4 separate regions of the Homo sapiens genome follow, and all the other regions are linked to region 1. The links are contacts of gene promoters, found by promoter capture Hi-C in blood cells and fetal thymus (Javierre and others, 2016). All regions are on one chromosome and are shown on one strand. The core of a region is centred on a gene start or on the middle of the fragment in contact, and the rest is flanking DNA. Distances in the headings are between cores, read along the strand shown.

Evidence for each region. The method cuts DNA at HindIII sites, captures the fragments that hold promoters and counts their contacts. A CHiCAGO score of 5 or more calls a contact.
Region 2: a fragment that was not itself captured here is called in contact with the fragment with the promoter of MSRB2 in region 1 in 1 of 17 cell types (naive B cells); the score reaches 7.7 in naive B cells.
Region 3: a contact is called between a fragment that was not itself captured here and the fragment with the promoter of MSRB2 in region 1, in 1 of 17 cell types (total CD8 T cells). The highest score is 5.4, in total CD8 T cells.
Region 4: a fragment that was not itself captured here is called in contact with the fragment with the promoter of MSRB2 in region 1 in 3 of 17 cell types (total CD4 T cells, naive CD4 T cells and fetal thymus); the score reaches 8.2 in total CD4 T cells.

Annotation. Positions count from the first base shown.
Region 1 is chr10:23,091,661-23,098,498 of GRCh38, reverse strand. MSRB2 (methionine sulfoxide reductase B2) reads right to left here and starts at 2,920. Exons shown (of 5, transcript NM_012228.4): 1 at 2,773-2,920. The coding sequence starts at 2,890. It overlaps LOC107984215 (a long non-coding RNA gene), which reads left to right and starts at 3,220. Exons shown (of 3, transcript XR_001747394.2): 1 at 3,220-3,679. RefSeq lists a silencer at 2,643-3,112. The HindIII fragment of the contact is 9,169 bases long and covers 1-5,844 here.
Region 2 is chr10:21,546,167-21,553,004 of GRCh38, reverse strand. All of the region lies in intron 3 of MLLT10 (MLLT10 histone lysine methyltransferase DOT1L cofactor), which reads right to left. Among named protein-coding and RNA genes, the nearest start is that of MLLT10, 15 kb to the right of the region's middle. RefSeq lists a silencer at 1,748-1,932. The HindIII fragment of the contact is 179 bases long and covers 3,381-3,559 here.
Region 3 is chr10:21,973,947-21,980,784 of GRCh38, reverse strand. All of the region lies in intron 1 of DNAJC1 (DnaJ heat shock protein family (Hsp40) member C1), which reads left to right. Among named protein-coding and RNA genes, the nearest start is that of DNAJC1, 26 kb to the left of the region's middle. The HindIII fragment of the contact is 399 bases long and covers 2,327-2,725 here.
Region 4 is chr10:22,027,249-22,034,086 of GRCh38, reverse strand. No RefSeq gene overlaps it. Among named protein-coding and RNA genes, the nearest start is that of DNAJC1, 27 kb to the right of the region's middle. The HindIII fragment of the contact is 570 bases long and covers 3,732-4,301 here.

The sequences.
Region 1 (6,838 bases), core at 1,671-4,170:
GCATGAGATAACTACACAGCTTTACTTTGAATTATGCCTTAATAAACTCAAATTCCTTGGAGTTCCCTTCTCTCTGTGTGCTGTGATTTGCACAGGCCATATATTTTGTTGGTCAGAAGTTCTACGGGGTGGGCCTCGATTTTTTCATCCCTAAGGAAATCCACTCTTGGTCCTATGGTCACCTACTGGGTGCCTCCTTCGGGTTTTGCTAACCTTCCTGGCCACAGTTGCTATACTGCCAATTGTCACACATAAGCCCACTCCATTTTGATAAATAATGTGTTGAATCTAATGGAACTCTTTAGAAACTGGTATTAAAAGAATCCCCAGCCCATTCTGATCTGCAGAACTAGTCTCTCCCACCAGTGCCTGGACTATTTTAACCCTATGCCCAGGACAGTTTCCTAGCATAGTCATCTCTAGAAAGAATATTTTCCTGAAGCAACAGATTTTTTGCTCCAGAATATTTCTTACTTTCCTTTTTCAGTTTGCTCTTTGTCAATCTGGATTAAAAAAAATCACTCTAAGCATATGAGAAATTGCAGCACTGGAAAAAAATACTGTCATTTCAATATCTTCTCATTTCCCCCCTCCCAATGTCTCCCTCTCTCTCAACACTCCCGAAGCCCATGATGTAAGTTAAATGTAGCTACATTTTTGTCCTTTCCACTTATTTATGTAATCATAACTAACATTTATTGTGTGCCTAAGTGTCAAGCATTGTAACAAAATATTTAATTAAAAAGTTATTCTTTACAACAACCCTACCATTATCATTATCCTTATTTGACAGAAGGAAAAAAAATCTGAAGTTTAAACTTTCCAAATTCAAGAAACATGTCCAAAGACATTGTTACAAACTGAATATTATATGTTCTCCCTGCTCCTCTCCCCACTCCCATATGCTAAAGCCCTAACTCCCAATGAGATGGAATGTGGAGGTGGGGCTTGGGAGGTTATTAGTTTTAGATTAGATCATAAAGGTGAGGCTCTCTTGAGGGATTAGTGGTCCTTCCTGAGACAGTCACCTGAAGGCAGAGTGAGAAGGCAGTCAACTGCAAGCCAGGAAGCAGGTCTGCATCAGGAACCAAATCTGTTCCCACCTTGATCTTGGACTTCCCAGCCTCCAGAACTGTGAGAAAATGTTGTTGAAGCCACCCAGTCCACGGTGTTTTGCAATAGCAGCCTGAGCTCAGACACAGAGCCAGGAAGTAACCGAGAGCCAAGACTCAAAATCTGCATCTATTCATACCCAAGCCCTTCACCACAGAAATACTCCGTTTATCATTTTTAATGGCTGCCTAACAGTTTGTTGGATTGAATTTTCATGATTTACGTAAGTATTTCTTAACTGATTTGGGTTACAGCCAGTTTCCATTTTGTAAGAGACTAGTGCTTAAAGCATCTTTGCATATATCTCTTTGTTCTTCTTTTGAACTATTTCCTTCGAATAGATTCCCAGGAGGGGTGTCTGATAAGGTACACAGCTCCTGTTACCTACTGGTGGCTGGCCAAATTTTATTGTTGCTGGAGAACTTCAGATCCCAGGGCAATTCATTAGGCTGCTTCTGACAGCAGCAATTACAGCCATGAAGTAGTTACCGCTAAAACCACCATCCTTTTTCAAGGGGTTATAGAGAGCTCGTCGGTAACTGTGACCTGTTTCTATCACCTGTGGTTCTCAGCAATACAATGCTTGGCACACAGTAGGCTCACAGCAAATGTCATCAGACTGACTAGAGACACCAGTGATTAGAAAGGCCATAGCTGGAAGTCAAGTTGGATGAGCTAACATTCCACAACGCCAACGCTTTTATTTAGTTACGTATTCTTTCAATATTGCATTTCGAAAACTTCAGGGGCTAAAAAGAGCTCAGAATGAGTTGGTACATTTTCATCAGTTGGGTATCTCTGAATGTCTTCAATGAACACATATAAAATTGGATTCAGAGTGGGTCAGTCTGGCAACCGCCCAGGAAGCCAATCCCCTGGGGCACTAAGTTACCCTGAAATAGAACTGAAATACAGGGGTAGCTGGCACAGGTCTCCCGAGGTGACTCCTTCCTGCTTGGTGAAATGTGCAGGTACCCAGATCCAAGAGAGGATCCAAAAGTATTTAGCAGAAACACACACACACACACACACAGAGAGAGAGAGAGACACACACACACAGGCTCGCCCTGGTCTCTGTCTCAGTCATTAACAATGGCTGTCACCTTAAAGAAGGAACAAATGATCAACCCAGTCTCCCTGGCTCTTAGACACATTTATGGGAAGTCAGCAGGGCAGGAAACACTCACAGGAACCCCAAGTCTGAACTGCCTGCTTCTCAGATGCTGGAAGGAAGCCCGCGGAACTACGAAGAGGGCTGCAATGCAAAATACTAGGGGCCTTCGCAGGGGCGCGCGGGCCGGGCTGCTACAGCCCAGGCCCCGGGCCTTCGCCTGGAGTCCCCGATAGGGGTCAGAGGCCCCCGAGCCCCACTTATGCCCCCACTCCCCGAGCCAAGAAAAAAAAAATTATGCGCACATTTAGGGGGATCATTTGTTCATTTCCTCGGATTCTCACAGGGGTCAGTCCCCACCCTGCCGCCACCAAGTTTACAATCCACTGTCCCAGATCCTCGGGCTGGGGGGGGGGAGGGGCGCGCCGAGGAGGGCTTAGTAGGAGGGCAGCGCCCGGCCTGGACCGGCCCTAGGCTCCCGGGTGCAGCCGGTGAAATGAAGCCGAAAGCCGTAGGCGGCGGCGGGGCCTGCGGGACCCGCGTCCTACCTGCCTCCCCCAGTCCCGGCCCGGTGCCGGGCCCGCCGCCGCCCGCTTGGCCCCGCACCGCCCGCCGAGGCGCAGTTCCGAGGGTCAGGCCCCGGAGCAACCAGAGGAGCCGCGCCATGACGCCCGCTCCGGCGCCGCTCCGCCCTCTGCCCTCTGCCCGTCTCTGCCCCTGCTCCCATCCCACCCCTCCCCCATTCTCTCCCGTCCGCCTGCGCTAGTCGGCCTCCCTCCCCACGCTCCGCCCACACCGCCAGTCCCCTCGTCTCCCTCCCCCTCTTCTCCCTCCCCTGCCCCTCCCTCCTTCCCTCCTTCCCACCTGCTCCTCCCACTATGTGCCCTGGGCCCTCCCAGGTCCCCGCCCCTCTTTCCTCCCACTCTGCCTCTCTCTCCCCCTCCCTCTTCCTCTCCTTTTCCCCTTGCCTTTCCTCCCCCTTCCTCTCCCCCTTCCTCTCTCCCTTCCCTTCCATGAGACCCTCCCCAACCCATCTCTGCATCTCCCAGCTCCTCCCACTCCTGCTCCTCCCTCGCCCTGCCCCCCTCCACCTATCCCAACTCCACTCATCCGCAGCCCAAACACTGATCTGTTTTAGTTTGCATTTTCTAGAGTCGTCCATAAATGGAATCATCCCATATGTACTTGATTTTGTCTGGCTTCTTTCACTCAACATAGTTACTTTGACATGCCTGCGTGTTTTTGCATGGAACAATCATTCATTGCTTCCTGAGCAGTATTCCATTTATGGATATACCACCGTGTGTTTAGTCAGCACTTGATTTAGCCTGCTTTCAATTTTTCCTGATTAGAACTACAGCTGCTAGGAACATCCCTGTGCAAATCTTTGTACAGACATATACGGTTTTTCCTCTCTGGGGTAAATACCTGGAAGTGGAATGCCCAGGTCGTAAGGTAGGTGTAACCATTTAAGAAACTACTATACTGTTTTCCCAAGTGGTTTTTTTCTTTACCTTCCCACTAGCAGTCTATGCGAGTTCCAGTTGTTCTTCATCCTTGCCAACACTTGAAAGTCCAGAGATTTTAACTGTAGATGTTCCGGTTCTGTGTAGTGGTAGCTCATTGTGGCTTTATTATGCATTCTCTAATCGTTAATGATGTTAAGCATCTTTTCATGTGCGTATTTGCAGCGAGTGTATTTTCCTTGGTGAAGTGTCCGTTCAGATCTTTTGCCCATTTAATGTTGAGTTGTTTCATTATTGAGCTTAGAACACTTTATATATTTTGGATGCAAATCTTTTATCAAACATATGCTTTACAAAGATTTTTTTTCCCAGTCTCTTGTTTGTCTTTTCTGTCTCCTAATATTGTCTTGGGAAGAGCAGTTTTTAATTTTGATGAAGCCCAATTTATCAATTTGTTAATGGATTGTTCTTTTTTTGGTATCATATTTAAGAAATCTTTGCCTAATCCAAGATCACAAAGATTCTCTCCTATGTTTTGTTCTAAAATTTTTATAGTTCTAGGTTTTACATTTAGGTCTCTGACCGATTTAGAATTTTTATATATGGCCAAAATTTTTGTTTTGTTTTGTTTATCTGTTTTGTTTTTTGCATATCTATATCCAGTTGTTCCAGCACCATTTTTATTGATTGATTGATTGATTGATTGAGACAGAGTCTCTGTCGGCCAGGCTGGAGTGCAGTGGCACGATCTTGGCTCACTGCAACTTCCATCTTCCAGGCTCAAGCAATTCTTCTGCCTCAGCCTCCTGAGTAGCTGGGATTACAGGCGTGTGCCACCACGTCTGGCTAATTTTTGTATTTTTAGTAGAGACGGGGTTTCACCATGTTGGCCAGTCTGGTCTTGAACTCCTGATCTCAGGTAATCTGCCTGCCTCGGCCTCCCAAAGTGCTGGGATTACAGGCGTGAGCCACCAGGCCTGGCTCCTAGCACCAATTTTTAAAAGACTACTCTTTCTCCACTGAACTGTTTTTGAATCTGTCAAAAATCAGTTTCCTATCAATGTGTTGTGTCTATTTCTGGACTTCCTATTTTGTCCCATTAATTAATTTGTCTATTTTTACATCAATATTACAATATCCTGATGACTGGACTTGCAACCAGCTAGCATTGGTACTGTACCTCTGTTCTTTTTTAAGGTTGTTTGGGCTATTTTAGGTCTTTTGTATTTCAACATAAATTTTAGATTCAGTCTGTCAATTTCTACACATGATCTTACTTAAGTTTTGATTGGGATTGCATTGATTCTATCCATAAGTTTGGGGGAAATTAATATCATAACAATATTGAATCTTTTGACCCATGAATAAAGATATGCCTATCTATTTATTTAGGTCTTCCTTAACACCTACTAGTAGTGTTTTGTAGTTTTCACTGTATAGGTTTTGCACATCTTTTGATAGATTCATCCTAAAGCATTTCATATTTTTGATGCTGTGGTATTGTTTTATCAATTTCAATTTCTGATTGCTAGTATGTAGATTTTGTATATTGATCTTGTATTCTGTAATCTTTCTAAACTCATTTCTTAGTTCTAGTAACATTTTATGGATTTTATCAGATTTTCTACATAGAAAAATCATGTCATCTGTGTAGAAAGAGTTTTACTCTTTCTTTTTAATACAGATGTCTTTGATTTCTTTTTCTTGCCTTATTGCACTGGTTAGAGCCTGCGCAGTGTTGAATAGAAATGTTGAGAGTGAACATCCTTGTCTTGTTCCTGATCTTAGAGGAAAAGTATTCAGCCTTTTACCATTAAGTATGATATTAGCTATAAGTTTTTCATAAATTTTCTATCAGATTAAGGAAATTTCTATTTGTAGTCTACTGAGAGTTTTTATCAGGAAGGGATGTTGGATTTTTGTCAAATGCTTTTCTGCAGCTACTGATATAATCATACCTTTTTCCTATTTTCTTTTTGTAGTTTGTTACTTGATTTTCAAACGTTAAACCAACTTAGTATTTCTTCAATAAAGCCTGCTTTGTCAGTTTTATTATTTGTTTCATGTATTGTTGGATTATGTTCTATGTATCATGGATTACATTTTTTTAGAATTTTTGTGTCTGTGTTGATGAAGGATGTTGGACTGAAAGCTTCCTCTCTTATAGTATCTGTCTGGTTTTGTATCTGAGTAATAAGTAAACAAATTCAAATCCAGAGAGGATAAGTACCTTGTCTATGATCACACTGCTAGTTAGTTGAAGAGTTTGTAAAGTTCCCCTAAAGTTTAGAATTTAGAAAATATCAAGGAATACCGGTTTAACTCACCCACCTTCACCCCCAATCCCAAGCAAAGTTAATAAATTAACTTAACATTGTGACATTGTGGGAAAAAAATCATGGAGTCTGGTGTAAAACACATTCAAGTCAGAATATCTTAAATTTAAAAGACGCATGAGCTTGATCAAGTATTCAACCTGTGACAGATCAGTTTTCTTATCCCCAAAATGGGGTTATTGTAAGGATTAGATACAACATACGTTAAAACACCTAGCAAACCCTTTGGTACATACTTGGTTTTAATAAACGTTAGTTGTTATTGAAGATTTAATGAGGACAACGGTAATTGGTAAACAGAGCTGATAACCAATCTATCCTTGCATTTCTACATATCCTCACACTCCCAGAAAGACATTCTAAGCACAGAGGAAGTCCCTCCCTCCCTACCACCATTCTCCTTTACACCTGCTAGGAGGACCTTTACCTCATCTGTGATCAAGCCCTTACTGGTCTTAAAATGTCCCCTCTTCTCACCACCATTTATCTGAATCCAACTTAACCATCAAGGCCATGCATTAACCTCACATTCTTGGACACATGGTCTTAGCCTGAACAAAACTCTACTTTATGTTTTCCCTTTTACTTTGTACACTGAGTGGTAGAGACTATCATTTGCCTGGCCGATATCCACTCTCTCTACTTACAAACAGATCTTTGATTTTATTAAGAGTAGCAATATGCCTAGCTAAAATGTTACATCTGTCAGCTCCCTTGTAGTTGGTGGCAATCATATGATGCTGTTATGGGCAATGATAGGAGCAGACATCACTGGGAGCTACCAGGAAAACTAGTTAAAGAGGAGCTGGCTC
Region 2 (6,838 bases), core at 2,221-4,720, 1.5 Mb after region 1:
TCCAGCAAGCCTAAGGAGCAAACAGACCAGATGGGAGCAAGCAGATGGTACCCAGAAGAAGGTCCCTGGTTTAAAAAGGAAAGGAAGGGGGAGGAAAGACAAGGGAAAGTAAAAGGGGAGAGAAGAAAGAGGGAGGAGGAAGGCGCAAGGAGGAACAGAGAAGAATAAAATCAAAGAGAGGAGAAAGAGGAGACGGAAAGAAGAGGAAGAAGAAAATAAACAGAAAAGAAGATAAAAGGAAGGAAAGGAAAAGTGAATCTATAAACGACCTAATACGATAACCATGCAGATTATTTAAGAAAGCAATGAGAGAGGCCGGGCATGGTGGCTCACGCCTGTAATCCTAGCACTTTGGGAGGCCGAGGCGGGTGGATCACCTGAGGTCAGGAGATCGAGACCAGCCTGGCCAACACGGTAAAGCCCCGTCTCTATTAAAAATACAAAAACTAGCCAGGCGTGGTGGCAGGCGCCTGTAATCCTTGCTACTCAGGAGGCTGAGGCAGGAGAATCGCTTGAACCCAGGAGGTGAAGGTTGCAGTGAGCTGAGATCACTGTCACTATACTCTGGCCTGGGTGACAAAAGCAAAACTCCATCTCAAAAAAAAAAAAAAAAAAAGCAATAAGAAGATATACAAAGATTTAGTCTTATAGTCTTAGAAGAAAAAAAACACAAGGAAAGCTGAAATACAGAACAAATATTAATCACAGAGGAAAAAAATAAAAATTAACACCAAAAAGTAATAACACTGCTGTATATTTTTGTCTTGGAAATTAGCAAAAACCAGGCAGGGTAGCTCACGCCTGTAGTCCCAGTACTTTGGGAGGCCAAGGCTGGAGGATCCCTTGAACCCAGGAGATCGAGACCAGCCTAGCAACATAGTGAGACCCCATCCGTACAAAAAATGTAGAAATTACACAGGCATGGCGGTGTGTACCTATAGTTCCAGCTACCTGAGAGGTTGAGGTGGGAGGATGACCTGAGGTCAGAAGCTCGAGACCAGCCTGGCCAACATGGTGAAACTCCGTCTCTAAAAATACAAAAATTGCCCAGGCATGGTGGTGTGTGCCTGTAATCCCACCTACTTGGGAGGCTGAGGCAGGAGAATCGCTTGAACCCGGGGAGCAGAGGTTGCAGTGGGCTGAGATCACACCACTGCACTTTAGCCTGGGCAACAGAGCGAGACTCTGCCTAAAAAAAAAAAAAGAGAGAGAGACAGAAACTATTAGACTTAATTTAAAAAAAAAAAAAAGTCTAAACACAAAAACAGAATAAACAGATACCATATGCTAGGCAATTTATCAAAGTACATCTATGTTTTCAATTCTCTTACTAGTTTTGTAGGGAGGTTAGAAAAGAATACAAACAAGTATTAAGCACCTGCTTCATTCCTGCCCTTATGCTAGCCTTTTCTCACATTAAAAGGAAAAGGAATTCAAGAAACAAGCAAGTAAAACTGGCTATGTTATCGGTCTATGATGGTAAGCACCAAATGTGTTAATTTTTGAAAACCACCTCTTTGAAAGCTATAGGAACTTACGATATTATGCTGAATTTAAAATGAAATACTAGATTATGAGTCAGCAGTAACAAAAAAAAAGTTAGTAAATGTTCAACTTTAAAGACATTCTATTTAAAGTGTACAGGCTAAAAAGCCTGTACAGAAATAAAAAAGTTATTTGTGTTATGTAAAAAAAAAAAAAAAAAAAAAAAAAAAGGTACAATCCGAGTACTTTTTGGCACTCAGCCTGGCTTCTTGCACTTAGAAATCAAAGATAAGTTGGCCGGGCACGGTGGCTCACGCCTATAATCCCAGCACTTTGGGAGGCCGAGGCAGGCGGATCATGAGGTCAGGAGCTCGAGACCAACCTGACCAACGTGGTGAAACCCCGTCTCTACTAAAAACACAAAAATCAGCCGGGCGTGGTGGCGCGTGCCTGTAATCCCAGCTACTCAGGAGGCTAAGGCAGGAGAATCACCTGAACACTTGAACCTGGGAGGCAGAGGTTGCAGTGAGCTAAGATCGTACCACTGCACTGGGTGACAGAGCAAGACTCCATTTCAAAAAAAAAAAAAAAATTAAAGATAAAAGAAATCTGAAAACAATTTTTAATTATGTGAATAAAGGTAACTCTCCAGGTGGCAGAAATAAAAAAGAACTTTAAAGCTAAATAAGGCCGGACGCCATAGCTCACGTCTGTAATCCCAGCACTTTGGTAGGCTGAGTCAGGCAAATCACTTGAAGTCAGAAGTTTGAGACCAGCCTGGGCAACATGTGAAACCCCCGTCTCTACTAAAAATACAAAAATTAGCTGGGCTTGGTGGCACCCATCCGTAGTCCCAGCTACTCATAAGGCTAAGGAAGGTGAATCGCTCCAACCCAGGAGGCGGAGGTTGAAGTGAGCTGAGATTGCATCACTGCACTCTAGCCTGGGTAACAGGGCAAGACCCTGTCTCAAAAACAAACAAAAAGCTAAAGGAATCAGTATTAAATTGAAGCTGGGGCAGTTAACGAAGCTATCAGAAACAATACCTTAGAGGGTAGGACTGACTATGACAGCAACATAGACTAAAGATATGGAGAAAAGCTCTAACTGGGTTCCCTATATAAGGACAAGAGCTGATAAGGATCCATGTCATAACAGGAAGAGACTCTAGAAAACCATGTGCTGGACTACTAAGACTAGGGAAGCTGCACAGAAATTAGATGCTTGCTCCAGATGTGAGTAGATGACTCACTCTAGAAATCCAAGGGGATACTGAGGGAAGGTATGGGGCCCAAAATCTATTATCTAAAGGATGTAGAAATCCAAGCCAAGAAACAAACTTAGAGACTGGCCTGGAGCAATGAACCCCATTAGGCAAACTGTAACAGACTCTGCAGCTACCAATCCAAGTCTATTTTCTCCTTCTTCCCTACTAACAGAACTCTCACTTTAACCAGTTTATCAATGGGCCCAACTTTATGACCACATTTTGCAGGCTCAGTAACAATTAAGAGCCAGTAAAATTAAGCCTAAGTTGTTGAGTGGAGCCTCAAGGACAATTAGTTTAAGAGTACAACTCAGAGCTAGGCGCGATGGCTCACGCCTGTAATCCCAGCACTTTGGGAGGCCAAGGCGGGCAGATCACCTGAGGTCAGGAGTTTGAGACCAGCCTGGCCGACATGGCGAAACCCCATTTCTACAAAAAATACAAAAATTAGCCAGGCATAGTGGCACACACCTGTAATCCCAGCTACTCGGGAAGCTAAGGCAGGAGAACCCGGGAAGTAGAGGATCGCGGCCACTGCATTCCAGCCTGGGCAACAGAGCAAGACACTCTCTCAAAAAAAAAAAAAAAAAAAAGAGTACAACTCAGTTAGAGGACCACACTTGAAGCTTACCCTCTCCCCTTCTTTCTGCCTGGGACTTCTTTTGTAGTCACAATGACTGCAGTTCCAGCTGCCATGCTTTGACTATGGGATAACCCTGAACATGAAAACTATGTGCTAAGGCTGATACAGAAGGAAGATAGAAAAAGCATACTCCCTAGTGACTTAAGAGAGCTGTCATCGAAGCTTCAAAATGCCTTTTGCTTTTAAGTAAAAGAATAACTGGACGGGTGCAGTGGCTCACGCCTGTAATCCTAGCACTTTGGGAGGCCAAGGCGGGCGGATGACGAGGTCAGGAGATCGAAACACAGTGAAACCCCATCTCTACTAAAAATACAAAAAATTCGCCAGGAGTGGTGGCACATGCCTATAATCCCAGCTACTGGGGAGGCTGAGGCAGGAGAACTGCTTGAATCCGGGAGGTGCAGGTTGCAGTGAGCCGAGACTGCGCCACTGCACTCCAGCCAGGGTGACAGAGCAAGACTCAAGTCTAAAAAAAAAAAAAAAAAAAGGAATAAGCTCCTGACTTGTAGAAACCATTATAATCTGGTCGGCCAAACACAATTCTTAAAAGACAGAGAGCAAAGGCAAAAACCCCACAGTGACATCTTCACAACTCATGGTAGAGGAACAGGAATCCCAGGAAAGACAACTCCACCTGAAGATTAGCCTGCAGTCAAAAATTACACAATATATAAAGACATCTATCACCAGAGTTAACAAAGAATTCCAAAATCTGAGAATCTTTACAATAAGTATGTTTTAAATGTTCAAATAAAAAAACGAATATAATTCTTCAAACAATAAAGCAAGATACCCTGAAAAAAGAGACAAATTGAAAAATAAAATCACACAAAAATTCTAGAAATTTACTCAGAAAAAAATTAATTCACTGAATTAAAAATAAGCATAAATCTGAAGACAGAGTTAAAGATATTATCAGTAATGCAAAGATAAGACAGAAAGGCCGGGCACAGTGGCTCACACCTGTGATCCCAGCATTTTGGGAGGCAAAGGTGAGTGGATCATGAAGTCAGGAGATCAAGACCATCTCGGCTCACATGGAAAAACCCCGTCTCTGCTAAAAATACACAAAATTAGCCGGGCGTAGCGGCGGGCACCTGTATTCCCAGCTACTTAGGAGGCTGAGGCAGGAGAATGGCGTGAACCCGGGAGGCGGAGCTTGCAGTGAGCCGAGATCGCAACACTGCACTCCAGCCTGGGCAACAGAGGCTCCGTCTCAAAAAAAAAAAAAAAGATAAGATAGAAAATATGAAAGACAAATTAAAAGACATGAAAAACAGAATGAAAATCCCAAACATATACCTAACAGTTCTAGGAAAAGAAAAGTTAATGAGAAGGTTACAGTATTTGAAGAGACAGAGTAGAAAATAAAAAATGGAAGGACACTGAGTCCTCAGAATGAAAAAGCAGACCAAGTCTCAAACAGGATAAACAAACTCAAAAGATTGTTTATCAACCAACAGACACCAGAAGACAAACTAGAATAAAATCTTTAGTTACAGGAAAATAGCTATTATCAAAGGATTCAAACTAGCTTCCAAGAGAGCAAAATAATGAAATTCGTAGACACAAAAAGACTAATATAACTTTCTTACTTATTACTTACTAGCCTCAGACCCTGAGAAAAAAATACCAAAACCTTCAAAGTAAAAAAAATGAACCCACAAACAAGGAAAATAAAAGGCTAGATTGAACAAAAACATGAGTAATATTAAGCCTAATTATAAATAACTATTTTTTTAAAACACACGATTATTTAGAAGATTCAAAATAAGACGCACAGTGGCTCACGCCTGTAATACCAGCACTTTGGGAGGCCAAAGCAGGAACATTACCTGAGGTCAGGAGTTCAAGAACAGCCTGGCCAACATGGTGAAACCCCATCTCTATTAAAAATACAAAAATTAGCCGGACAAGGTGGCATGTGCCTGTAGTCCCAGCTACTCAAGAGGCTGAGGCATGAGAATCGCTGAACCCATGAGAATCACTTGAACATGAAAGGCGGAGGTTGCAGTGAGCCGAGATCACACTACTGCACTCCAGCCTGGGTGACAGTGAGACTCTATCACCAAAAAAAAAAAAGAAAAAAACAGATGGAGTAATTCCAGCTACTTAGAAGGCTAAGGTGAGAGGATCACATGAGCCCAAGAGTTCCAGACCAGCCTGGGCAACACAGTGAGACCCTATCTTAAAAAAAAAAAAAAAAGAAAACAGCAGAGTAATAAAGACAACAATAACATAGATTGTGCGAGGGAAAAAGAACCAAAGGAATCAAGGCGTCCCAAGGACCTTTGTTTTGTTCAAACGGAGTACAGATATTAAGACTCAGAAAAACATTAAGTATGCATGTTAAAACTTTAAGTGCAATCACTAAAATAAAAGAAATAGAGCATATGACCTCCAAATCAGCAGAGAATTAAAAAAAATAAAAGAATGAAGGGGTCAGGCGGGGTGGCTCACACCTGTAATCCCAGCACTTTGGGAGGCCAAGGCAGGAGGATTACCTGAGGTCAGGAGTTTGAGACCAGCCTGGCCAACATGGTAAAACCCCATTTCTACTAAAAATACAAAAATTAGCCAGGATTAGGGCCGGGCATGGGAGTTCACGCCTGTAATCCCAGGACTTTGGGACGCTGAGGCACGTGGATCACCTGAGGTCGGGAGTTCGAGACCAGCCTGACCAACATGGAGAAACCCCGTCTCTACTATACAAAATCAGCCAGGTGTGGTGGCGCATGCCTGTAATCCCAGCTACTTGGGAGGCTGAGGCAGGACAATCGCTTGAACCCGGGAAGCGGAAGTTGTGGTGAGCCAAGATTGCACCATTACACTCCAGCCTGGGAAAGAGCAAAACTCTATCTCAAAAAAAAAAAAATTAGCCAGGCACAGTGGCGGGCACCTGCAAGCCCAGCTACTCGGGAGGCTGAGGGAGGAGAATCACTTGAACCCAGGAGGCAGAGGCTGCAGTGAGCTGAGACTGCGCCACTGCACTCCAGCCTGGGCGACAGAGACCCTGTCTCAAAAAAAAAAAAAACAAATTAGCCAGGAGTGGTGGGGCGTGCCTGCAGTCTCAGCTACTCGGGAGGCTGAGGCAGGAGAATCGCTTGAACCTGGGAGGCGGAGGTTGCAGTAAGCGGAGATCACACCACTGCACTCCAGCCTGGGCCACAGAGTGAGACTCCATCTCAAAAAAAAAAAAGTAGAATATTTACAATCTAAAATGTCCTCTCTGGCCAGATACGGTCACTCACACCTGTAATCTCAGCACTTTGGGAGGCCAAGGCAGGAGGGACTACTAGAGCCCAGGAGTTCAAGACCAGCCTGAGCAACATTGTGAAACCCAGTTTCTACTAAAAATACAAAAACTAGCCAAGCATCGTGGCACATGCCTGTAATCCCAGCTATTCAGGAGGCTGAAACACAAGAATCACTGGAACCCAGGA
Region 3 (6,838 bases), core at 1,277-3,776, 1.1 Mb after region 1:
TAATTTTTCATTTTGAAATAATTTTAGGCTTAACAAAAGGTGGCAAAAATAATACAGTTCTCATATACCTTTCACCTGGCTTTCTCAGATGTAACCTTAATAAATTGATAAAAACCAGGACATTAACACTGTTACAGTGTTATCTACAGATGTTATTCAGATTTTCCAGCTGTCCCATTAACATCCTTTTCCTGGTGCAGAATCACACATTTAGTTGTTTTATCTCATTTATGTCCACTCTGGGACAGTTCCTCAGTCTTTCTTGACCTTGACACTTTTGGAGAATATTGGACAGTTATATTTTAAAGTGTCCCACAGTTTGGGTTTGTCTAATATTTCCTCATGATTAAATTCAAACTATGCATGTTTGTTATAAATACTATGGAAGTGGTGTGCCCTTTTCAGTGTATTGTATCAGGAGGCACATGATATCCATATATCTCATCACAGATGATGTTAACTTTGATCATTTGGTTAAGTGTCTGCCAGGTTTCTCCACCGTAAAATTACTATTTTCTCTTTGTTAATTTCTTTGTAGGAAATTACTTCTTAATGGACAGAACTAGGAAATATATGTGTGTATATGTGTATATAGTTTGTTCAATATCTGGATTTTGTGCCTGTTTTTGTTCACTGCCATTTCTAGCACTTGTTTAGCCCTGTGGTCAGTAGATATTTGTAGCTAATAATATAGAATAGTGTAAAGTTAGACTAGATAACCTAAGGACTTTCCAGCCCCGCAACTCTGTTAATGTTTTGATTCTGGAAAAATAAGCTGGGGAACAAGACAAAAATAAACTCTGAACAGGATTCATAATAAGCAGAATGCAAAAGTCATAGGACTTTTGACTGCAAAAGTCATAGGAGCAGACATATGCAGTTTTGACATATGACTGCAAAAGTCATAGGAGCAGAAAGCTTTGATTATTATCAAAAACAATGAAGGTGTCAAAGGCCTGGAACAAAGTTTGCTGTGGGTAGGTAAGAAAGAGAAGCTTGATAATCGTTTTATCCATTGTACCTTAGCCGGATTGACTTGCAGAAGGTAAAGCCATGGTGAAAAAAAAAAAAAGAAAAATTATAAATAAGGATATCTCCTTTACAGGTATTCTGTCTTTAGTTTACTTTCCATTATTTCTTACTTTATCCAGGTAGACCAGATCCAAGTACATGTATTCCCACTGTAAAACCATATATGGCTTCATATTCTGCAAAGTCACACCCTAAAAATAACAGTACCTATGGGAAAAATAGGGTTGAGGTACAGCGTTCAAAATCTGTGGAACCTTATAAGCACTCATGAAAATAATAATACTTTAAAAAATCAATTAAATCTCCTCTAGCATTTTAACCTGGCATCATAGTTCTTAAAATCCTTTAAACCCTTGTTCTCATGCTTCCTTATTTGGGATATAGATTCTTTAGATCAGTTGAATAAAAATACATATGATTCAGATAAGAGCCCTTTTGAAAATGAAGGAAATGTCTTTGCAGCTTCTTGAGCTGCACTCAGAGATTGATCAGATAGCTTTACATAGTAGAAACCATAGAAGTTCTTGAAGCCACAAAACCAGCTACTACTTATATTAATAGAAGGCACGTCTAATAGATTTCTAGCTGGTTTTTTTTAAAAGATCTTCATATTTTACTAAGGTTTTGTCTTTAATTGCAAGAAAACTTATCTTGGATCATTAAAAAAAAATGAATGTGCCAGGGGAAAAAAAAATCAAGTCGAACTTACATACCTAACTCTGCATTATAAGAATATCATTCCGCTGTTTACTAATTGTATATAAGATCATTCAAATTAAAAAAGTCATAGAGGTAATTAATCTGTAATAATCTGAGTAACCGATTACACCTCAGTGACAGTGTGTTTAGCCAGAGTCGGTATTTCCTATATATGTATTTTTTATAGCCTTAGATGTTTCTGATAACATTGTATAAACATATCACTTACTGAATTTACAGACTCTGAATAAATGGTGGCTTCATGATACAGTTTTTAAAAGTATTTTTACCTTAGGATTCTTGGGTCTTGTATCAGCTCTTGTGGGAAGTTTGTGTATGTTTCCAGTCTTTTCCCTCTTTTTCCTGTGACTCATTCTACTTCTTCATCTACTTTAGTAGTCACTAGCACTGCCAGGTTTTGTGGAATCTTTGACAGAAATGTAGGATTCCTGCCTTTTACATACAGGAAATAATTTGATAGTATTGGAAGACAAAATGTAATCAACTGATAGACTGCCACATGTTGTCTGTAAATACTAGGCCTGTGTGTGCTATTCCCTAGCATTGTCTGGCTTTACTGAAAGCACTTCAAGCTTAAGAAATTGCTGACCCCTGTCTTACTAGGTTCTGAGCCAATCTTTTCACTTGCTAATCGACTTTCCCACTTTACTGAAAGGAGAGGCTTTCAAATTCTATACTTTATCAGTGTATTAGTTCTACAAAATGTTGCTTCAAGAAATAATGGAAATTCTTAAAGAGTTTGCATGTTGTTGCATGTTTCTCTCTCCCTCTGTTCAAATTTCCCTCTTGATGGAGATGTGCTTCTGGGTGACTGGTTGCCAGGAACTTTTATGTTCATAAGTACTTTTTGAATATTGTATTACCTATTTAAAAAGTTAAGAAAAATCTATATATATTTGGATGATGAGGAATGAGATAGATGGAAGAACTTGTGAGGAGTGAAAGAGCTTTAGGAAGAGAAACTATTGAAGCTTATCTAAATTACAAAATAAGTCAAATGCTCCTATATAAAAAACAGACATTCTTATTGTTAAAAAACTTTTTGCTGTTAAATATCATCTAAATATTGGTTTGATGTACAAATGTAGAAAAATATCTTGGGCATAGATTTTTTTTCCCTTGTCACTTTGAAAAGAAATTTACTTATTATTTTTCTGTAGGTTTTTCAAAGAATTTTTATATTAGACAATCACATCAGCTTTCCAAAAGAGAGAAAACACTGATTAGGAACCCTCACTATCCAGGTGGGGAAGTGGGGATTTAAAATAATATAATGTTCATATGCAGGGTTGCACTATAACATAAGCCTCCTGACTCTTAACTTAAATATGTATTGGATGTGTTAAGATGTTTTTCTTTTATTTAATGTGAAAAAAGCTTAATAATTGACTGTTGGCGCCTGGGCATGTATATTTTGGTCCCCTGCACTGGGAATCAATTCTAAACTCAAGTTCAAAATTGGCTTCTGGAATTAGGGTGTTCAGCCTATAAATAGAGAGATATCTGTACTTCTTTAAGCCACACAAGTCTTTTCTTGGGTTTAGTTAGTAATTACTACTTTGGGAAATTATTTCTCCTTTAGAGTTGTTATTTTGATTCATATTTTAGTTCACGTGGATGTCTACAAAATAAGGAGTAAATTCTTGAAGAAAACCTGCTAATAGTTGTTTTATAGAAACTGAGCTTTGTAGATTAATTAGACTATCTAAATTGCAGCTTTTAGCTACATAATAAAAGTTTACTTGCATAGTCATTTTGTGTGTGTGTGTGTGTTTTTTTCATTTCTTAAGTGTGGTAGTTTTCTTTTTAAAAAATTGCTAAGATAAGGTCTTGAATGTTGTTCTGGTATTTAAGTACTGAGTCCTAGGATTCTACTTTTGTGTTTGTGAGAATTGCCGGGAGAGTAAGAGGCCAGCAGTGTGAGTGTCCACCATGTTCTCTACCTACGTACAAAGAAGCCTTAGTATGCTCTGACTCATTGATGAGAGCAAATTGGAGACTGTCACTGCTTTTTGCTTCTGTTGCTTACCATTGGCCCCATTGCCCCTTTACTGATGCTACTTGTTTTGATTGGTTGCTTTTGCAATGTTTGTGCTGTTGTTGTTACGGAAGAAAAGAGAAATAGGGGAGCCTAGTGGGTGGGCCGGCGGCATTCAAGAAGACTTAGAGAAAGGCAGAAGCTGCAGTGTTTGTCTCTTCCTCCACTGATTTTAACATGGCCACAGGAGTCATTAAACATAGCCTCTGTAGCATAAGGAAGGCAGAATTCTCTAGCTCGTTTGCGTTTTGTTGCTTAGTGGGAAGAGCTGAGAAAAAAAACAGAACTGGAAAACATCGCTTACTCCTAAAATGCAAGGGTAACCTTTTCAGACTTCTGTTGATTTTTGATGGGTTAAGAAATACAGTATGTACATATTCCTTTTAACTCTCCCCCACTAATATGGTCTGTTGGCATTTTCCTATTATTTGACTAGCGTCTTAGGAATTATTACTACAAAGATTCAGTGACAAATAACTGGCCAGAAGAAGATGTGGCATGTAATTTCAGATGACAGTGGGATGATGTTGGTACTTTCAGGACCTGTGGGTAGTAGGGAAAAGACAGTGTAACAGTTAATAAATGTTTGTATGGATTGCCTTAGTTTACGACTGAACAATCACATGCTTTTATTATTGGCCCTACCTCATAGAATCAAAGCCTTTTACATATGCCAACATTTTACAATATGTTCATTACCAAATGTTGCATGCCTGGTTGGTATATACTTTTCTAGATTTTGTAGGCTATGTAAAAATTTGATCCTGGTTCTCAAATATGGATAAAGAAGATACATGACTGTATTTTGGAATCAGGAAGATGAATACAGTTTCCAGCAATAAATCTATTACTGTCTTTTGAAAAAAAATCTTATTGTATGGTCCTTCAAGATTCAAAGTTTCTCTTAAAAGTAATAAACTGTAATATAGATAAAGCTGCTTATGCAGCAGCTAATTTATGGACCTCTTCAGTGCATTTTAAGATTTCCCTATTATATTTTTGCCCATCTAAATATGTTACTCTTTCCCTAATTTTCCCATAATTTATCTAGAAGAAACTTGAGGTGAATCTAACTTTTTAAAAAAACCTTTAGGCCAAAAAAGTTGAATAGTAATCAATTCATAGTTTAATGAAGGACATGTGTAGTTTGAGTTTCTGGATAACCTCTCTTCCTTTGAAAGTGTTTCTTAATTAAAACCAGATGAGAGCAGCAAAGAAGGTATTCAGAACACTAAGTAAAATTAATGTGCTTCATGGAATTTGCAGAATTCATCAATACATGTAACAATGATTTATAATTGCATTTGGTCCTAACACTTATCAGTGTAGATCTAACAGAGGGACAGTAAGTAAGATAGCTAGTATGAAACACTAAGGTGAAAGGGTTAATTGGCCTTGCACAGTTCAATTTGCCACTCTAGTGGCACTTTCTATTGTCTGTGTAAACAGAGTTGCTAAGTACTTTCCCGCTAAGCTGCCACCCTTTTATTTATACAGTTGAACCACCAATGAGGAATGGATCAGTTTACCAGTTGTTAGGCCTTTTCTTCCTGCCTTTTCAGCCCACTTCATGTTTTTTCCCCCAGCTATTGCTATATACCTCCCTAATAATTCCTTAGTCTGTGATTTTGGTCTCTCTCTCTCACTCTCTTTCTCATTTATTTATTTATTTATTTATTGCAGCTTATTTTTTTCTCATATTCATTGATTTGAGCATTGGGATATTAATAACCTGGTTCTACTCCTTTATACCTCATTTCTTCTCGCCTCTACTCCCATTTTACCAAGTAAATTCTCAGAACTTGCTGCAACTCTTTCAAATAACTATTTTAAAGTAACATTTAAATAGCTCTTCAAAAATGAAAACATTACATATATAATGCTGAAGTCCTCTTTAACCAGCCTATACTGTATGAGTACCCCTAGTCCACTGTGAGTTAATATATTAAAATATATACTTCCATACCATTTTCATAATTTTATATCTGTGTATATATATTCATAAACATAATATGATATTGTTAGAAATTTACATAAATGATATTCTGGGAACATTTTTTCTTGTTTTTTTCACCCTGCATTGTATTTTTAAGATGTATACATATTACATAAGAAGTATACATATTACATTACATAGAGAAATCTACTTTAAACCATTAATTACTTCATAATATTACATTGTATTTTGCAGTTATCTACCTATTAATGAATATGTAAGTAACATCGTTTTTTCTCCATTTTAAACAATATCACAGTGAACAACCTTATAAATGTTGTCTTGTATATATTGCTACAGGTTTTTAGAGCAGTGTTTTCCAAACAGCAGGTAACGAAGGCAGTGTAGTAAGTTGGAGTCTGTACTTTTCAGAATAGAATGCAGTACAAAGTGTCAGGGTAAAAGGTACTTACTTTTTCATGAAATATATGTAATTGTGTTCTGAGTTGTGATATAAAATGTATTTCCTACTGTAGGTTTCAATAAAAAAGTTTATGGTGTGATACAAAATAAATTTTGTGCTGTGTATCTTAATCATAAATTTTGTGCTGTGCATCTTAATCGGCTCTGGATTATGTACCCAGAATGGGTTAGCTGCATCACGGGTTACATAGTATTTTGAATCTTCCTAGACATAGCAAAATTACTTTCCAAAATGGCCGTACTGATTTCACTCCCCATACCCTAATCGGTATTTGACATTCTAGTCAGACTTCTACATTTCCTATGTTCTTGAGGGTGAAAATTCCATTTTGTTTAAATTTTCATTTTAACTGGTTAGGTTGAGCCTAACTTCCTCATTACTGAAAAGAAAAGTGTTAAGACCTATCTGGTTGGTAGGTTACTATTGAAAATCATATTTCTTTTCCTTTTTTTCTTTTTTCTTTTTTTTTTTTTTGAGACGGGTCTCACTCGATTGCCCAGGCTGGAGTACAGTGGCGTGATCTCGGCTCACTGCAACCTCTGCCTCCCAAGTTCAAGTGATTCTCCTGCCTCAGCCTCCCAAGTAGCTGGGATTGCAGGCACGCACCTCCAGGTCCGGCCGATTTTGT
Region 4 (6,838 bases), core at 2,767-5,266, 1.1 Mb after region 1:
AATGCCTGCATGTTCTACCAACACTTTCTACTTTTGACTTACTGACGTTAAGAAGAACTGAAAGGAAAAGGAGCTATCTTTCCCTTTCTTGTACATCATCCTTTTCAGCAAAAGTAGTTGACTCACATGGAGAAGTAACACAAGTAAGGTAGGATATCATAGAGTTAGTCAGTTATTTGTGTTGCTTGGAACACTACAGCCTTCTTTCAGGATTCAAAGTGAGGCAAGGTTTGAACACAAAGCTTGGCTTCCCAGGGCTGCCAGTGCCCAGCTCACTCAGTCAAGACATATAAAACGCTTACTTATATGTGCTTTGAGTCTCACAGTTCCCATCCATTGAATGTCCACTGGCATTCTGTGTTCATGGGTATCTCAACTCTATATGCAAAAAGGCCAGCCAGTGATGGCATGTGTATTACATGTATTCAGCCTCTGCTCAGGTGCACGCTGCATTTTCCCTTTGGACTTCACTTACAAAGCGCAGATTCAAAGATAACATTATTAAGAACTGCAAGATGGAGACAGAAGAGCATTGACCCAGTGTGGAGCCCTGTGTAATTGCATAGGTCACAGGCCCGTGAAGCTAACCCAGAATGGCTATTTCAGAGGATATCAGGTACTAAGCTATGCAAACTAAGAAAGATAATTTCAAATATTCAGAAAACACTTCCTTTTTTTGGAATGTAAATCTGAAGAAAATGAATTATCAATTCGATTAATAAACCCAATTCAACAAAAAGCCAGTTTCCTAGCATCTTACTATAGCGAAGGAATACTGACTATCCAGGCAGTTTCTCCAGCACTTGGGCCAAGAATCAGGACTCAGTGAGGGCCTCCTAGGTTTGGCTACATTTTTTTGAAATGAGGAGAAAAAAATATACAGAGAACTACAACAAAGACTAACCCCCTCCCAATGCATATTTGCTCCTCCCTTACAGAAATAGAGATACTGATTCTTAGCTGGACATAAGGCTACTGAAAAGAAAGACTACAGCCTCCACAGCAGACTAAGTTTTGTTTTTTTATAGAGACAGAGTCTGGCCACGTTGCCCAGGCTGGTCTTGAACTCCTAGGCTCAAACAATCCTCCCTCTTTGGCCTCCCAAACTGCTGGGATTACAGGTATGAGCTATCATGCCTGGACTTGATAAAATTTTACAATGAGAAGTGAGTGGAAATGTTTCGTACAATTTACAGAACGTATCCTTAAATAGAGTCTATGTGTGGCTTTCCCACCTCTTCCTCCTTCCTGCTGCTTGAAATAAGTATATATATAATAGAGACCCATTGTGGATCATTCAGAAAAGGACAACACACTTTAGAAATCATAGCAACAAATTAGAGGAAGCCTCATTACCTGGACAAATCTCCTGAGTAAAAGATCCCTGAGGCCTCCCCAGAAGCAGAAGCCACCATGCTTCCTGTACAGACTGCTGAACTATGAGTGTATTAGTCCATTTTCACACTGCTAATAAAGACATCCCTGAGACTGGGTAATTTATACAGTTAAAAGGTTTAATGGACTCACAGTTCCACATGGCTGGGGAGGCCTCACAATCATGGCAGAAGGCAAGGAGGAGCAAGTCATGTCTTACATGGATGGCAGCAGACAAAGAGAGCTTGTGCAGGGGAACTCCTCTTTATAAAACCGTCAGATCTCATGAGATTTATTCACTGTCACGAGAACAGCATGGGAAAGACTTGCCCCCATGATTTAATTACCTCCCACTGGGTCCCTCCCACAACATGAGGGAATTCAAGACGAGACTTGGGTGGGGACATAGCCAAACCATATCAGTGAGCCAACTAAACCTCTTTTCTTTATAAATTACCCAGTCTCAGGTGTTTTTGTGTTTTTTTGTTGGTTTGTTTGTCTGTTTGTTTGTTTTTGAGACGGAGTCTCACTTCATTGCCCAGGCTGGAGTGCAGTGGCAGAACCTCGGCTCACTGCAACCTCCGCCTCCCGGGTTCAAGCAATTCTCCTGTCTCAGCCTCCCCAGTAGCTGGGAACTACAGGCACATGCCACCATGCCTGGCTAATTTTTTTGTATTTTTAGTAGAGGTGGGGTTTCACCATATTGGTCAGGCTGGTCTCGAGCTCCTGACCTCAAATGATCCACCCACCTCAGCCTCCCAAAGTGCTAGGATTACAGACATGAGCCACCACACCCTGCCTTCAGGTATTTTTTTAAATAGCAATGCGGAAACAGACTAAAATGGAAAATTGGTACCAAGGAATGGGGCATTGCTATAAAGATATCTGAAAATGTGGAAGTGACTTTGGAACTTGGTAACAAGCAGACATTGGAATCTAAATCTCCTACCTCCAGAATCTTGAGTAATAAATAAGTAAATTAATTTCTCTCTAATCTGTTTCTTATACACAGCAAAACATATAATCTAATGAATATAAGAATAATACTCAAGAAGCTCACGAACTTGAGAAAATTTTAGAGCAGCAAAAAGTCATTTATTAATTCACTCAACAAATTTGAAACTACTCAGTGTCAGGCACTGTTTTAGACATTGAGGATGCAGCTGTAAACAAGATACATAAAGTCTGCTTTCATGAGCTTACCTTCTAGAAGGGGGAGGCATCCAATCCACAAATAAATATGAAATATAGTGGGAGGTGGTAATATGACCACCAAGTAGGATGAGATCATTTAAGGAGAGTCAGGAAATGCTTTTCTAATAATATTATATTTGGGCAGTGACGTGAGGGAACTAGTAAAATTGAAACTACTTTGTTATCTGGGAGAAGAACATTCCAGACAGACATACCAACAAATATTAAGTGGGAAGTGGGAGCAGGATTGACAGTTTTGAAGGACAACGATGCCACTCTGGCTGGGGCTGAGGGAGCAAGGGGAAGAGTGTAGGAGACCAGAGGGCTTAGATGGTAAGGACCTGGGATTTTCCTCTGCATGAATGATTAGAGGGTTTGGGGAAGAGGAATGAAGCAATCTGAGTTATATTTTAGAAGCATTTCTGCAGAGATTAGGTGAGAGGAGGCAAGGGTGGAACCAGAAAGACCAGATGAGAGTTGATGGTGGCATGGATTAGGGTGATGGTTGTGGAGAAATGGTCAGATTCTGGGAAAATTTTGAAGTTAGAGAAGACATGATTTGCTGCTGAATTGAATGGGGGGAAAAGAGAATAGGACTCAGGAATGACTCTAAGATTTGGCCTGATCCATACTGTCTTGATAAATATCCCTCTATGAATTCCAGGGTGCGGATACAGATCTGAGAAAAGGAAAGGCTTTGTACTTCTCATGACACTTGCTGTAGGTTTAACTGCATTCACTATGACCATGTATGTGCTAAACATACATGTATTATTTCATTTAATTTTTACAGCATTCCTATTAGTGGCTGTTATCATCCTCACTTTTATAGATGAGGACGCTGAGGTTTAAACAGGTTGTGTAACTTGCCCAAGGTCATACACCTAGTGAGTGGAAAAGCCAGTATTCAAACTCATATCTGCCTGATACCAAGTCACAGCTTCCAAACCACTCTTCTGTACAGCCTATGATGTTTTTACTCTTCCATCAGTTAGAGCAGGAGCAGACAGACGAAGCCCCACAGGCCAAATCTGGCTCCATCCCTGTTTCTATAGAGCCTGTGAACTAAGAAAAAAAAATTTTTGGAAAAAAAATCAAAACAACATTTTTATAACAGTGGAAATTGATATAAAATTCAAACTTCAGTGTTCACAAATAAAGCTTCGTTGGAACACAGTCATACCTCTTCATTTACTTATTATCTATGGCTGTGTTTGGGCTACCATGGCAGAGTAGATTAGTTTCAACAGAGACTACGTGGTCCACAAAATCTAAAATAGTTAATATCTAGCCCTTTACAGAAAACGTTTGCCAACCCTGGTTTAGAGAATGAACTCTGTTCTAACGTTCATGAAATACCACGTTTGTGAAACATTTCTACGGTAGTTAATATCTCTAAAGTCAGAGAAGGTAATGCTCTGTGAGAGAGAGTTTATTTAGCCAGTTAAGGATTAATTACTCTTGCAGTTTTGTTCTACTGTGAAAGTGCAATACACAATGGGCAGGAACCCAGTGTCAGAGTAACGGCAAATAACCTTTTACCTCTCTCTCTCTCTCTCAAATAGAGACCATTCATATAAGCTATCTATCTCAGAAAATTGTGAGTTCTTGATATTTTGAAATTATTAAAGGATTTGCCTTTAGGAGCTCTTTTTGAAAATGTTCAATTCTCAAATTTCTAGCTTTGAAACTATATCATGCACTGATCTACAAAGGCTAATTGCAATCAAGCTTACTTCTACTGAATGCTGATCGATGGTGAGTAACCACGATAACACTGATCAAGGGACAGCGTTCTATAGTTGAATGAGTCACTCCATTTCTACCAGAAAATAATTACATAAGGTCTAGAAACGTGTCTCTCCCAGTAGAAAGCTTTGTAATGATCTAGTGCGGAGGGAAGTAAAAGTACAAAACAAGATAAGAGCCACATATGAGGGTGTTTAATCTCTGTGCCAAGTACAGAAAGGAACTCTGCTCTATGGTTTTTATCTGTGAATCTAGAAGCAGCTGAGGCGGTGAACCTCAGTGTATGTGTAAATTTCTATCGTTGTTGGCTTTCTCTTCCAATAAAAGCCTTATCTGAATTGAGCTGAAACAGCTTATTTTCATCCATCCCATTTGGGTCCAGTTCCAGAAAGAGTTGAGAAATCTCATCCTTGGAGTAGACTTGAAAAGAGACCCACCTGGATTGTATTTATATGTGCATGGTAATCCCACCTAGACTCCTCTGAGAGCTGGCAGGTTCTCCCCTTCCTTCTGACCATGCCAAGTGACCTCTTACCACACTCAACTATGATAGCTCATATCTAACTTTTCTGTACTGTATTATTATGTATCTACTACATCTGCAACAGATACTTTCTCTGGGACCAAACTTTTGCTTTAAAATGATAGGACCAGTCTCAGAGAGTCACCTATTGTCTGACTCTATTTCCATTGCATTCTTTTTTTAAAAAACACCTTTATTGAGATATAGTTCACGTGCCATGTAATTCACCCATTTAAAGTGTACAATTCAATGGCTTTTAGTATATTCACAGAGGTGCAACCATCACCACAATCAATCTTAGGACATTTTTATTAAGCCCTCCCTTCTAGATCACTTAGCCATCACCAAAAATTCCCCCCATCCCACCCAGCCCATGGCAACTACTAATCTCCTTTCTGTCTCTACAGATTTGTCTATTCTGGACATTTCAAAAAGAAATGGAGTCATCCGTTGTGTGATCCTTTGTGCTTGGCTTCTTTCACGTGGCATATTTTCAAGGTTCATCCATGTTGTGCCATGTGTCAGTACTGTCTTTTAATTGCCAAATGATATTTCATTGAATGATATACTCCATGACACTCTTGAGATGACATTATAGACTTAGAGAACAGATGTTAGGAGTGGTGGTTTGGGGAAGAGTTGACATGACTGGCTATGAAGGAATAAAGAATAACATGAAGGATCGTTGTGATAGAACCATTATGTAACTTAACCGTGGTAAAATTGCATAGAACTAAACACACCTACTTATGCATACACACACACACACACACACACCACACATACACAAGTGAATGTATGCAAATCTGGTAACAACTGAATAAAGTCAATAGTTTGCAGCAGTATAAGTTTTCTGGTTAGGATATTGTACTCTAGTTATGCAAGCTGTTACCATGAAAAGAAACTGAGTAAAAGGTATATGAGATTTCTTTGTATTACTTCCTACAACTGCAGGTGATTTCATAATTTTGTCAAAATAAAAAGTTAAAAAAATAATACTGGGACCTGGACAATAGTTCAAGGATGGCAGAGTAAGAACCTCTGAAAATTTATTTCTCCATAAAAGCAACAAGAACACTGGCAAAAAAAAAAAAACAACTGTCAAATTCAACTTTTCATAACTCTGAAAATTAACCAAAGGCTTGCAAAAATTTGAGTGCTTAGGCAAGAAAAATGGCTGAATCCTGGTAAGAACAGGAGGCTTGATGGCATTTTAACCTACTCTGTCCTCATGCTCCTCTCCCCAGCTCTAGAGTAGCCTTGAAAACAAAGAGAACTGCAATCATGGTGAAAGCTAACAATCTAGAAGCCACTGGAGGGAACAGAATGTTGAAGCCCCATTCCTAGATAATGGTCATTACGTGACCTGTCTGGCAGGTTCCTGGAAAATCTCACTCATAAGACTTGTCTTTATTCGACCCGACTCAGGGAGCACTCACCATGAACAGCATTTTACCCAAAGGTATTTGTCAAAAACAATTAGTGGCAATTATTTAACATTACAGCTGCACGAGGCTTGTGATGATAACAGCTAGGACAAACAACAAGCTGACCAAAAACTTAAAAGGAAATGCGGGAGAATAAGATATTAATAATAAGCTTTGAAAAGCTCTGATATATTCCTGGGAAACTAGAAGGCTACACATATGCACAGGGCTGTGTGCATGCGCATGCCCAGGAAATTGCTGAGATGGTCCTAAACCCTCGCCTCTGGCTAACTATCAGTCTCTGTGCAAGCAGAAAGTGAAATTTGAAGCAGAATTGTAAACTGCCTGTCTGAACATTGGAGGCAAATCCCAATATGCACACAACACCCCTCAGCAAAGGCTGGCAGGCTTGTTGGTTCCAAGAGTTTAAGGAAATCTCTGTACAGTCATTAACTGCCCATTAAGATAACCAAGAAGAGATATCAGTGGTCACACATGAAAAAAAAATCATACTTTGGAGAATGAATTCAGGAAACTCACTAAAAAACAAATAGCAAAAACAAACCCTGAG